Regions from separate parts of the Homo sapiens genome. Here region 2 is linked to region 1. The links are contacts of gene promoters, found by promoter capture Hi-C in human tissues and cell types (Jung and others, 2019). All regions are on one chromosome and are shown on one strand. The core of a region is centred on a gene start or on the middle of the fragment in contact, and the rest is flanking DNA. Distances in the headings are between cores, read along the strand shown.

What was found. Contacts are between HindIII fragments. The study calls those that stand out against the background at their distance.
Region 2: the fragment with the promoter of JPH3 here is called in contact with a fragment that was not itself captured in region 1 in 1 of the 25 tissues and cell types used here (H1 embryonic stem cells).

What each region holds. Positions count from the first base shown.
Region 1 is chr16:87,856,943-87,862,710 of GRCh38, reverse strand. All of the region lies in intron 1 of SLC7A5 (solute carrier family 7 member 5), which reads left to right. Among named protein-coding and RNA genes, the nearest start is that of MIR11401, 5.9 kb to the right of the region's middle. RefSeq lists enhancers at 1-690, 1,449-2,206. The HindIII fragment of the contact is 9,544 bases long and covers 1-5,768 here.
Region 2 is chr16:87,600,280-87,606,047 of GRCh38, reverse strand. JPH3 (junctophilin 3) reads right to left here and starts at 3,540. Exons shown (of 5, transcript NM_020655.4): 1 at 2,520-3,540. The coding sequence starts at 2,901. It overlaps LOC124903750 (a long non-coding RNA gene), which reads left to right and starts at 3,865. Exons shown (of 2, transcript XR_007065172.1): 1 at 3,865-4,036; 2 at 4,943-5,523. RefSeq lists an enhancer at 4,439-5,001. The HindIII fragment of the contact is 15,663 bases long and covers 1-5,768 here.

The DNA of each region.
Region 1 (5,768 bases), core at 1,153-3,652:
GGCCTCTGCGTGTGAAGGTGCCAGTTGCACGGGCTGTGACCGTCCCTCCACGTGCCTGTATCTCCTGCTCACTGTGCACATGGAGCAGCCCTCAGCCTCACTGTCTTCTCCTCTGGCAAAAGAAGGAAGGAGCAAGGGAACAAAGAGAGGGAGGGAAGAGCCAGAGACAGGAGCCAGGGTTTCCTTTAGTCTGGAGCTCTGGGTGCGAGATGATGTCACCCACCCACGCTCGGCACAGGCCCAGGGTCGGGGGGCTATGGGTGGAAGTAGGAATCGCCACAACTGTCTCTGAGCCCCTCCCTAAAGGGTGAAGGGTGTAAGGGGTGGGTTTTGATGGCTGTGGGCTTAGCTGTGGTCAGTGGACTCAAAGGCCAGTTGGCCAGTTAGCAGTGACCAGAGAGCAGAGGGGGCCTGTGTGTGTTTTGCCCCAGGGTCTTCAGGCTGCCTGGCTGCCTCTATCTGCCCCCTGGGTGTCCAGCACCACCCCCCCAACCGCTGGGGTATCCAGCACCTGTAACCTGTAGCCCCGCTTCTCAGTCCAGGCCTGTTCCAGGGCCCCCCTGGGGTATCAAGCACCTGTAGCCTGTAGCCCCACTTCTCAGTCCAGGCCTGTGTAAAACCTGGCCCCGGGTTGGGTTTTGGGATCCCTGCACCCCTCCACCCCCAACCCCCCACAGCTGGGATCCTGGCTCAGCTGGCAAAGGTTCTGCGTGTTTAAGGAGCTGGGTGGGCCCCAGAGCTCAAGCCGTGGGCTCATTGCAGGCGGCAGCCAGTGATTAGTGCTGAAATCTGACTTTCCCAGCCGCACATGAAAGTGCCGCCGGCACCTAGGCAGGTCACGCTGCATCACGGGATTCGGGGCAAGGCCGTAGGGGGAGCTCACAGAAGCACATGACCTGAGCCACACAGGAGAGCCTAACGGGCACTTGTGACCCTTTTTTCTTGGGTCACAGACCTCTTTCATAATCCAGCAGAATGTGCAGAATCTTGCCCAGAAATGTGTATCAGCCGCCTTCACACAGAAGGGTGGGTTGCGCAGACCCCCGGGGGCCCAGGCCAGGTTGAGAGCCACCCCCAGGAGAGGGGTGTCCAAGGTAGGGCACACTCTTGGACCACCTCTTGGCACCTCTTGGCCACCTCTTGGCCACCACTTTGCACTCCAGCCTTTGAAGCCAGTGATAATCCCCAATTTACAGCTGGGGAAACTGAGGCAGGAGCGAGCCAGGAGCCAGGGGCCACAGTGCCCACCTCTACACTGAGGCCACCATTTGTCATCAGGCATAGGGGAGCACAAAGCCACGCCTGGGGAGTCTGGTGGGTGCCAGGGGTCTGGGGAGGTGTCAGTCAGCAAGACTGGGTGGCCCAGTCGGCCCAGGTAAGGACACAGGTGGGTCAGAGGCTCATCTGTGTTCCCCAGCATCCCCTAGGGGCCCTTTGCGCTCCTCCACCCTTCTCCATCCTTCCCAGACTCACATCCAGGTACCCTGGACAGCCACAGGGTTCTGCCCCCCAGTAGGCCTGGCCCTCCCTGGAGCATCACCTGGATAGCTGGCCATGGGCAGGCCTTGCCTGGCCCGTCTGCAGGGACAGGACACGTGTATGCATGCAGATTGGTACTGTGTGCCCGCACGCTCCCCAGAGGCCCTGTGGCAGCACCCTCTTCCCGCTGCTGCCCTTTTCCAACAGGAGGGCCCCCCACAGCGTCTCCTTCCCTGATACTGGCCGAATCCTGAATTCTCCCTCTGGAAGGCGGACCCTCCGGGGTGGCCACAGCACGTGCGTGCCTCCGGGAGTGTGGGAGGCGTCTCTCCCTGCATCCCTGGCCGTCAGACCACCCCAGGTGGGGACCGTTCTCTGGCATTGCCCGCCCCTCCCCTGCCCTAGGATTTGCCCACTACGTGAGGAATGAGCACCGACCTCCTATTCTGGGCCTTGGAGCGTGACGCCCGCAAACTCGATCCCTGCTGAGTCATCCTGACCTCGGGGTGGGCCAGCATCTGTCACTACTGAGACACTGTATGTGTGAGCTGCTTGTTAACGAGAAAGCCAGACTCTGTAAAATGTTTGAAGAGATTTATCCGGAGTCAAATGTGAGGACCAAGGCCTGGAGGCCCTGAGGACATGTGCCCCAGGGGGTGGGCCACAGCTGGAGTTCATACCTCCTACAAGGACAGAAGTTACAGGCAGACATCAGTCAGTACATGAAAGGTATTTGTTGGTTCTGCCGAGAAAGGCGGGACAACTCCAAGGCGGGGATGGGCTTCCTGGTCACAGGTGGGTTCGAAGATTTCCTTTTTCTTTATATATATATGTGTGTGTGTGTGTGTGTGTGTGTGTGTGTGTGTGTGTGTGTGTGTGTGTGTGTGTGTATTTTTTTTTTTTTTTGAGATGCTTTTGTTACTCGGGCTGGAGTGCAGTGGTATGATCTCAGTTCACTGCAACCTCCGCCTCCTGGGTTCAAGTGATTCTCCTGCCTTAGCTTCCCGAGTAGCTGGGACTACAGGCATGCACCACCATGCCCAGCTAATTTTGTGTTTTTAGTAGAGACGGGGGTTTCACCATGTTGGTCAGGCTGGTTTCGAACTCTTGATCTCAGGTGATCCGCCCACCTTGGCTTCCCAAAGTGCTGGGATTACAGGTGTGAGCCACCGTGCCTGGCAAAAGATTTTCTGATTCACAATTGGTTGAAAGAGTTATTAGCTAAAGACCTGGTATCAATAGAAAGGAGTATCTGGGTAAGACAGGAGGTTGTGGAGACGAATATTGTGTTTTGTTTTGTTTTGTTTTGTTTTGTTTTTGTCACCCAGGCTGGAGTGCAGTGGCATGATCTCAGCTCACTGCAACCCGGTTCAAGCGATTCTCCTGCCTCAGCCTCGCAAGTAGCTGGGATTGCAGGTGCCTGCCGCCACCATGCCTGGCTAATTTTGTATTTTTAGTAGAGATGGGGTTTCTCCATGTTGGTCGGGCTGGTCTCGAACTCCTGACCTCGTGATCTGCCCACCTCAGCCTCCCAAAGTGCTGGGATTACAGGCATGAGCCACTGAGCCAGGCCAAGATCTGTGTTTGAGTGTTAGTGCTGGTCCGCTGTACCTGAATTCCAGAGGGAGGGGGTATAACAAGGCCTGTGTGACCCCCTCTTCCCATCGTGACCTGAGCTCGTTTTTCAGGTTAACTTTGGAATATCCCTTTGGCAATAGGAGGGGTCCCTTTAGTCAGTTACGGGGCTTAGAATTTTATTTTTGGTGTACGTGCTCAAACTGCAGCTGCTACAAAACCAAGGCCATGGTGACCCCGGGGCCAGTCCAGCTTTGTCCCTGTGCTCTCGAGCTGCTGGAGGCCAATGCAGGATTCTGTCCACGGCTCTCATGTGTGGCTTCAGAGCCTGAGGGTTCTTGGGGCCCTGTCTTCACCTGCTACCGTGTAGGGGCCTTGTGAGCTGAGTCAACTGGAAGAGCCCAGGGCCTCTGCAGAAGGCCTGAGCAGGGCCCGGGCACTGTCCCTGGAGCTCTGAGTCCCTCAAGCTGTGTGGCCCGGAGCCAGGCGCTTGACTTCTCTGGTCGTTTGCTTCAGAGCTGGAAGCCTGGGGTGACGTGGGTCTTTGGCAGGGGTCAGGTAGGGGAGGGGCCAGCCAGGAATCAAACATCCCTGACAGGTGAGGGGGCAGGTGAGGAGGGCAGGGCAGGAGCCCCTGGAGCACTTGTGCAGCAGCATCTGGGCCGGTGCAAGCCCTGAGATGGCTTCAGGTCCTGCTCAGAGCTAAGGGCTCCCCGTCACCAGGGATTCTTCCATCACTGCATCTGCAGAGCCCATCGGGATTGGGGAGAGGCCCTGGCCTTAGCTTGGAACAGCTGCATCCTCCTGTCGGGTGTACAGGCTGTGCACTGGTTAAGCCTGAGCGCAGAGTCTGTTCAACGAGTTCATTGTGTGGTATTTGCTTCCGCTTGCTGTTGAGTTGGACTGGCTTGGACGCTGGCCAGGAGCCCAAGTGGACTTGGTGCTTCTCTTTGACAGCCGGGATTGAAAATCCCAGTCAAGTGGCCAGAGCACGAGGGTGAGATTTAGGAGACCTGGATGTCCTCACTTTGCCGCCCAGGAACTGCTGTGTGACTTTCACCAAGTGGGACAACCTCTCTGAACTACGTTTACCCCGGCTATAAAATGGAGGTGTTGGATTGGCTGCCACAAGTGTCCTTCCACCTCCACAATACCGTGACTGGAGCGGGTTTTCACTCCTTTTTCTTGTTAGCATAACTGTTGGAGCTGTAGAGGGTTTGGAGTGGGGCGTGGGTTTCCGGACCACAGATGTGTGAGGCTCCGCACTTAGCCAGCAGTGGCAACTCCTTATCACTGGTGCCCACGGCTTCATCTGTGCCCTGAAGATACTCATGCTGCGGTGACTGGTCAGATTAATGGTGATGCTTTCATGGGGCGCCGTAAGACACGTCCGCGAGGTATTTCGCCCATGCAGCAGGAGGCAGTTGTTCCAGTCTGTTGGAAACAGGAAAGGGAGGCTCAGTCCCTGCAAAGGAACTTGCCGGAGTTCACACAGCATTTCAGCACCGGGTGGCCTGGTTTCAGAGTTTCAGAGGGAGCGGTGGCCCTTCCTGTCAGCCCTGGGGGTCTCCTGGAGTCAGGACCCTTGGGAAACCCAAATCCACCAGGACGCTTGTGTCAGGAGAACCTGACCACATGAGAAGCTGCCCTTTTCCAGTTCTCCTGCTTACCCTGGACTTGGGATGTTGGCAAATTTCAGAGCTTGCCAAATCTGCATCTTCCTGGCCTGTTTAAAATGAATGTGTCAGCCCCATTCTGGACAGCAGCTGACACCTCCTCCCCCGTGCCAGCCAGGACAGTGTGGTTGGGCGTAACTCAGCCCCGGTTAAAAATGGAAAAAAGTACAAAGACATGTGTTCAAGGGCTGGTGACAGAATTTGAAAATGTGACACCAGCCTGTTAGTAATTTGTTTTCACAGAAATCTGTTTCAACACTGAGCAGACAGGTGGGGCCAGGGCCTTGGGATCATCTCTCTGTTTGCCCAGGGACATCTGTATGTCCGGCCCAAAGGTGGGGCCTTGTGCTCTGCAGAGACTGGGCATCAAAATTGAGCCATTATAAGCAGACCATCCCGGCCAGGCGCGGTGGCTCACGCCTGTAATCCCAACACTTTGGGAGGCCAAGGTGGGCGGATCGCCTGAGGTCAGGAGTTCGAGACCAGCCCGGCCAACATGGTGAACGCTTGTCTCTACTAAAAATACAAAAATTAGGCCGGTGTGGTGGCAGGTGTCAGTAATCCCAGCTACTGAGGCAGGAGGCTGAGGCAGGAGAATCACTTGATCCCCAGAGGCGGAGGCTGCAGCTACTCGGGAGGTAGATGTGAGAGAATGGCTTGAACTCAGGAGGCGGAGGTTGCAGTGAGCCAAGATCGTACCACTGCACTCCAGCCTGGGCGACAAGAGCGAGACTTCGTCTCAAAAAAAAAAAAAATGTGAACGCTGCCTTTGCTTCCCTGCCCCGGAACTGCTTCATTTTCCTTGGGGTTTCCGGACCACTTTGACCTCTCTCTCTGGCCAGCAGTGGCAGGGAGGCAGGTGGATCTGGAGCCGGCATGGGCAGGCTTGGCATTCCAGCCCATTCTGGGGTGAGGTTGGCCTTGGGTGAGGACAGGGGTCACTGGGTCAGACACATTCATTTTCTGGAGCCCGGGGCGGTGACGTGTCCATCAGGGAAGCACGCGCCTGTGCTGGGGGCGCTCCCCAGGCCGGCAGCA
Region 2 (5,768 bases), core at 2,291-4,790, 260 kb after region 1:
TTCCCAACAGGAAGCTGGGAGCCCTCCAGAAAAGTGGCCCAGATGTCCAGGCCCGAGTCCTCAAGACCAGAAGGGTCAATTCTATTTCCTGTCATGCCATGTTGCCAACCAAAAGGGAGAGCCGGCCATGAAGCTCCCCATCTGCATCCCTGCCTGGCTTTGCTTATGGGAGAGCTAAGAACCGCATACCCCTTGAGAGGATGTTGACAATCTGGGCTTCTTCCGGCAATGTGATGCAAGAACGAGGGGGGTTTGGTCCCAGACAGATCGGGGATCCCTGCAGCCAAAGGCTGGGACTCCTGAATCACAAAGCCCGGGCCTTACTGGCCTCATCTGTAGAATGGACATGATCAGGCAGGACCACAAGGAGGGGAAGGGCTTAGGGGAGCAGGATGCTGAGGGAGCTGTCTGGCTGGAGTGGAGAGCCCAGGGAAGTGGACCTATAGAGAAAAACATCTCTCCCCTTAACCCGTCAGATCCTAAACTACACGGCCAGCCACAGAATCAGATCCTTTCTTCCCTAAAAAGTCACAACATAATCGCCGCTCCTTCTCCCTCAAATGTAAGCTCCGTGAGGGCAAAGATCTGTGTCTGCTTTGCTCAGTGTGGTTTTTCCAAAGCCTAGGACACCTGGCTGTCTGCTTTGCTCAGTGTGGTTTTCCCAGAGCCTGGCACACCTGGCTCATAGCAAACATTCCATCAGTATTTGTTGAATGAAAGAAATGATTCCTCAGGACTCTGGAGATGTCTGAGGAGCGTGGGCAGAGTGGGGTGCTCAGCCTCACCCCCAGATATTCTGAGGAGTTTCAGAGACAACGAAAGCCCTGGCTCCTCTCGTCCCCATGCCCTGCGTGAGCCCGGCCTGCACAGTCCTCCTGGAGCAGGCTCAGCCAGGAGCACCTCTGGAGGACAGGTCTGCAGAGCCTCCTGGCCAGAGCCTGGGGGTGATAGCAGCCCCTGGGCTCCAAACAGCCCAGCTGGAAGCGCCAGGCTGCCTGCCTGTCTCAGCCACCCACATCTGCTGCCCGGGCCTCCCTGTGCCTGCACGCGCGCGCACACACACACACAGGCCCACAGCCTGGAACCAAGGGAGCACCGTCTGCTCCCGCCCGGCCCTCAGCGCCCCAGGGTCAGGGAAGCTCTCCAACCTGCTCCATGAAAACAACAACGGCACAGAAAAGGCCGCCTGAGACCGGGGCTGGGCACGGCTTTGACAGGCAGGAGCATTATATAATTAACTGCCCCAGACTCCTCCTCCTCTTCGGGTAATAACGAACCCTGCTTTTCAGTTGCATAAGCCAAAATAATAATTACTCTCCAGCCCCCTGCCACTCCTGGATGTGGCCGTGGAGCAGGTGTTCCGAGCTTTCTTCATGAGACTCGGAGGCAGCGAGCGGGCGGGGAGGACTAGAGCACACGTACGCTCAGGATTTTTATTCTCGGCAGAAGCACAAGTCATTGCTGCGTCTCACTCCCTTCCCAGGCATCCATGCCTGAAACAGGCGAGCCGCCCGAGGGAGGCAGAGGACCCAGTGCCTCTGAGGATAAGCTCCCACATGGGAGTGGACTGGTCGGGGAAGCCAGTTTGTTTGGGGTCTGGCTTCCAGGAAAGGACCGGCTCCATGCGTGTCAGGTGCACTGAGGAGTGGATATCGGAGAGTCCAGGCAGGCGGGCAGCTGCAGAGCCGGCCAAGGTTCCCTGCACAGAAACCATCTTACAGCAGCAGCAGCAGCAGCAGCAGCAGCAGCAGCAGCAGCAGGCAGCTCCCTGGCTTCCGGCCCCGGCTCTGCCCCGAATGCGGTGGCATCTTAGAATGAAGGCACAGATCGATTCCCTCAACTAATGGTGAAAACGATGCAGCCACTGAAAGACGAGATTCCTGGGCTCTCACTGAGCAGATGGGCCTCCCTCCTCCCTCCAGCAGCCTGCTTCGACAGCGCTAGTCCGCGTCCAACCACCTAGAAGTGTACTGCCTGGCTGTTTTGGTTCGGGTTGGCATCCCCCGCCCCTAGCGCTCCCCATCACTCCCTTTCTCTCGGCTTGGGCAGATTCGGGGCTGAGGAAGGCCCTCGGGCGCCGCAGGAACACCAGAAGCGAAGCTGGGGCCTGATCGAAGGGCGGCCTCCAGGGTGGGGGGCAAAGCCAACAAGGGGAGGGGCCCTTCTCCCAGCCCCCTCTGCCCTTGCTGGGTTCCCCAGGGCCGCGGGCCCAGCCTGGCCCTTCCCGCAGGTCTCCGGCCTGCTGTGTCCGACGCACGGAGGCTCTGCTGGGCCCCGCCTGGCTCTGCCCCTGGAAAGCCCCCAACACCCTTCAGCTGGCACAGGGGCACTGTCCCCACCAGGCAGCGGGGCAACCTGTAGCCAGGAGCCGCCGTGGCTTCCAGGGAAGCCCGGGAAAGGCCCCTGGTGCCCACGGCCCAACCGGAGGACGCAGCTCAACTTCCCCAGAGATCCACAGAAGGGGCGCGATCGGAAGCACGTCCCTCCCGCCCCGGCCCGGCCCGGCCCGCGGCACCTACCTCCGTCCGAGTAGGTCTCGGTCCCGTAGCCGTCCTGCAGCCCGTTGCTCCAGGTCCCTTCGTATTTGGCCCCGTTGCCCGCGCACTCCCGCACCCCGTAGCGCCCCTTGAATCCGTGCGTCCACTCGCCCTTGTACACCCACTTCCCCTTGCTCTCCAGGCCGATGCCGTGGCGCTTGCCCTGCGCCCAGGTGCCCTGGTACGTGTTGCCGCTGGGCCAGGTGTAGACGCCCAGCACCTCGAAGCCGTGGCTCCACGAGCCGGTGTATTCGCCTTGGCCCTTGGGGCCGGTGCAGACGCCATGGCCGTGCGCCTTGCCGTCCTCCCAGCCTCCACAGTAGGACCCTCCGTCGTCAAAATTAAACCTGCCCCCACTGGACATGCATGTAACTCGGTTCCAGATCCCGCAAACGGTGAAAACGGACTCAGGCGATCGACACAGCAGAGTCGCGGCCGCCGGCGGCCCTGGGTCGCGAGCGTTTTCCGGAGGAGAGGAGGACGCGGCCCCGGAGCGCGGTCTCGGGCGCGGGCGGCCGCGGCGCCGGCTCCGGAGGAATTTCAGTCAATCGGGGGCGATTATTCCTTTTCGAGCTGCGCCGCGGAGCCTGACCAGCGTCTCGCGCTCCCGCTGGAGACAGGACCGGAGGGGAGGGGGAGGGGAGGAGGGAGGGAGGGGGCAGGAGCGGCGGCGGCGGGGCCCGCGGCTCCACCTCAGCGGCGAGAGGGCCCCTCGCCGGCAGCCCCGCGGGGAGGGCGCCGCGCCGAGGCCGGGCGGGGGGCAGCTCAGGCCCGGGCCGCGGCCCCCCACCTGCGGCTGCCGCGCTGCGGGCGCCCGAGGGCGGCGGCGGGGCCCGCGGGCGGCGGCGGCGGCACGGGCGGCGGCGCTGGCGGCTGCACCATATTGGGGGCCGCGGGCCGGGCGCGGGGCGGCGGCGGCAGCAGCAGCAGCAATGCGGCGGCTCGGGCGGCGGCGGCGGCGGTGGCGGCGGCGGCGTGCGCTCCGGGCCCGGCTCGCGCGCTCGGGCCGCGCGGCGCGCGCCCGCACCCCGCCCGCCCGCGCGCCCCCGCCCGCCCCCCGCCCCCCGCCCCCCGCCCCCGCCCCCGCCCCCGCCCCCGGAGCGCGGCGGTCCCAAGAGGGGCGCGGCCCAGCAGGCTAGGGCGCGGCGCGCGGGCGGGGACCCCGGGCGCCCCGCCCTCCGCGCCCCCAGCCCCGCGCTCCCCGCCCTGGGCTTCCCCGGGGCCCCCGCCGGACTGGAAACCGGGGTCCAGCCGGGGCGCCCCCGCCCCCTCCGGGAGTGGGATTTAAAGGCACAGGAACTGCGTCATGGGAAGGCGCGCAGCACTCAGGGCGCCCTCGGCCCCCTCCCGGGAGCTGGGCGGTGAGGCCTGCAGAGCAGGACCTGCCAGCTGAGCGCCCCTACCCTCGCCCCTGCCCGCCCCCGCGCCTCGCCCCTCCCGCCGGGCTCGGATCTGCCCCGCCTGCCCCTGACTCGACTGAGGCCCTTTGCAAACCACAGGTGGTTTTCTCCGGTGACAAACAATGCTTCCTTCTTCCTTCCGGGCAGCTTGGGTCCAAGAGTGGGGGGAGGGGGGCTTACCCCAGAAAACAGGGATTTGGCGAGTCCCTCTCCCCTATAAATTGAGTGAGAGTCGGGACACACGCGTGTATCTTGGAGCAAAGTCACCCGAATTCCGTGCGCCCTGCGCCCTGGCCAACAGGTAGCGCCCCCCCACTCGGGGAACGGTCGCGCTTTTGGGGAGCAAAGTGGGACCGCCATTCGGGCGTTTCTAGGTCTCTCTCCAGACATACTCTCACCCTCCGCCCCTCTTCCCACGCACAAGAGAGAGTCTGATTCTTGGATCCGAGCATCCTGGGATCCATTTAAAATGCATTTCCTGGACCATAAATCCTCAGGCAGAAGCCGGCGTCCCCAGCCCTCCTGAAATGCGTGCGGGAAATGGCAGCAGACCGGTGCAGTGGGCTGATGGGGGTGTGGAGGCTGCCCAGGGTCCTCGCTCCTGGGAGTGTGGGCCGGTGACCGCAGCGCGGTGAGCCAGAAACTGCAAGCCAGGCCTGGAGCCTGAGATTAGGACAGGAGAAGAGGTGCGATTCGGAGCCTCCAATCAGCCAGGAGCCCTGCTCAGATCTTCCCCTGTCCGAGAGAATCAGGATGGTCCCCACTCTTGGCTCACGGGGCTCTCAGAAAAATCAGCCCCTCCTGGGAGTCCCAGAGTTCAACCTCAGTCTCTTGCCTTGGGCACCAAAGCTCCCTCCCCAGAGTACCAGCAGCCAGGAGGACAGTCACCTCCTCATACACCCACTGTCAATGAGGAACATTTAGGGCGGTCGGCTTTGTTTTGTTTTGTGCAGTTACAGTGATTCATTGAGCTTTCTAGCGCTGTCTCCCTGTGCCCCTCTACAGAAGTTCTCTAAATGTCTGCGGTGGCATCATTGGACCAGCTACGTCTTGGACTTTATTGGAAGCTGCCAAATTGCTTTCCAAACACCTGGAGCAACTGACCTCTCACCCTTCAGTGTGCCTGGGTTTGTGGTTCTCTATTTCCTGGCCAGCACTGGTGTCCTCAAACTTCTGATTTTCTTTCCATTTATTTTACTTTGTTCATCTAAATGGGTATGAAATAATATCTCTGGGCTGTTTCATGTCCATGGAAATTTCTCTGTTGTAAATGTGTGGGCCAAAGGAACTGCACCTTGTCCTCAAGAGATTCGGGTCGAAACCTTGGCTCCGGGGCCCACCAGCAGTATGGCTTTGGGCAGTCACCTAATGTCCCTGAGCTCAGTTTTCTCATCTGTAAAATGGAGATGGCAGAGTTCCCATAGGGTTACCGTGGGAATTCAAAAGCTAGGCGCCCAGCACTCAGTAAGCGCTCGGGAAGTGGGAAGTAATGTTATTGGAAGCCAGCCCCCCAGGGAGGGTCATGGATTCCTGCATGGAGACACCCAGCCCTCTGCCTGTTGAAATAAACATTGCCACCACTCGTATGTTCTACTTTTCATTTCTTCCATTTTATTTCCAACCATTTTGCTGCTGAATCAGCAGCCCTCCTTCACACAAGCAGTGGATTGCAACTGAGATCCTATTGAAACACGGTGGTTGCTTCCAAGCAGTTACTGGTCAGCACCTTCCACCTTTGGCCAGTGTACACTCCGCTCCCTTGCAGTTCCAAGACCCCCACCTCCAACTGACCCTCTCTCATCTCCTGCAGTCAGTTACTCCAGCGGTGACA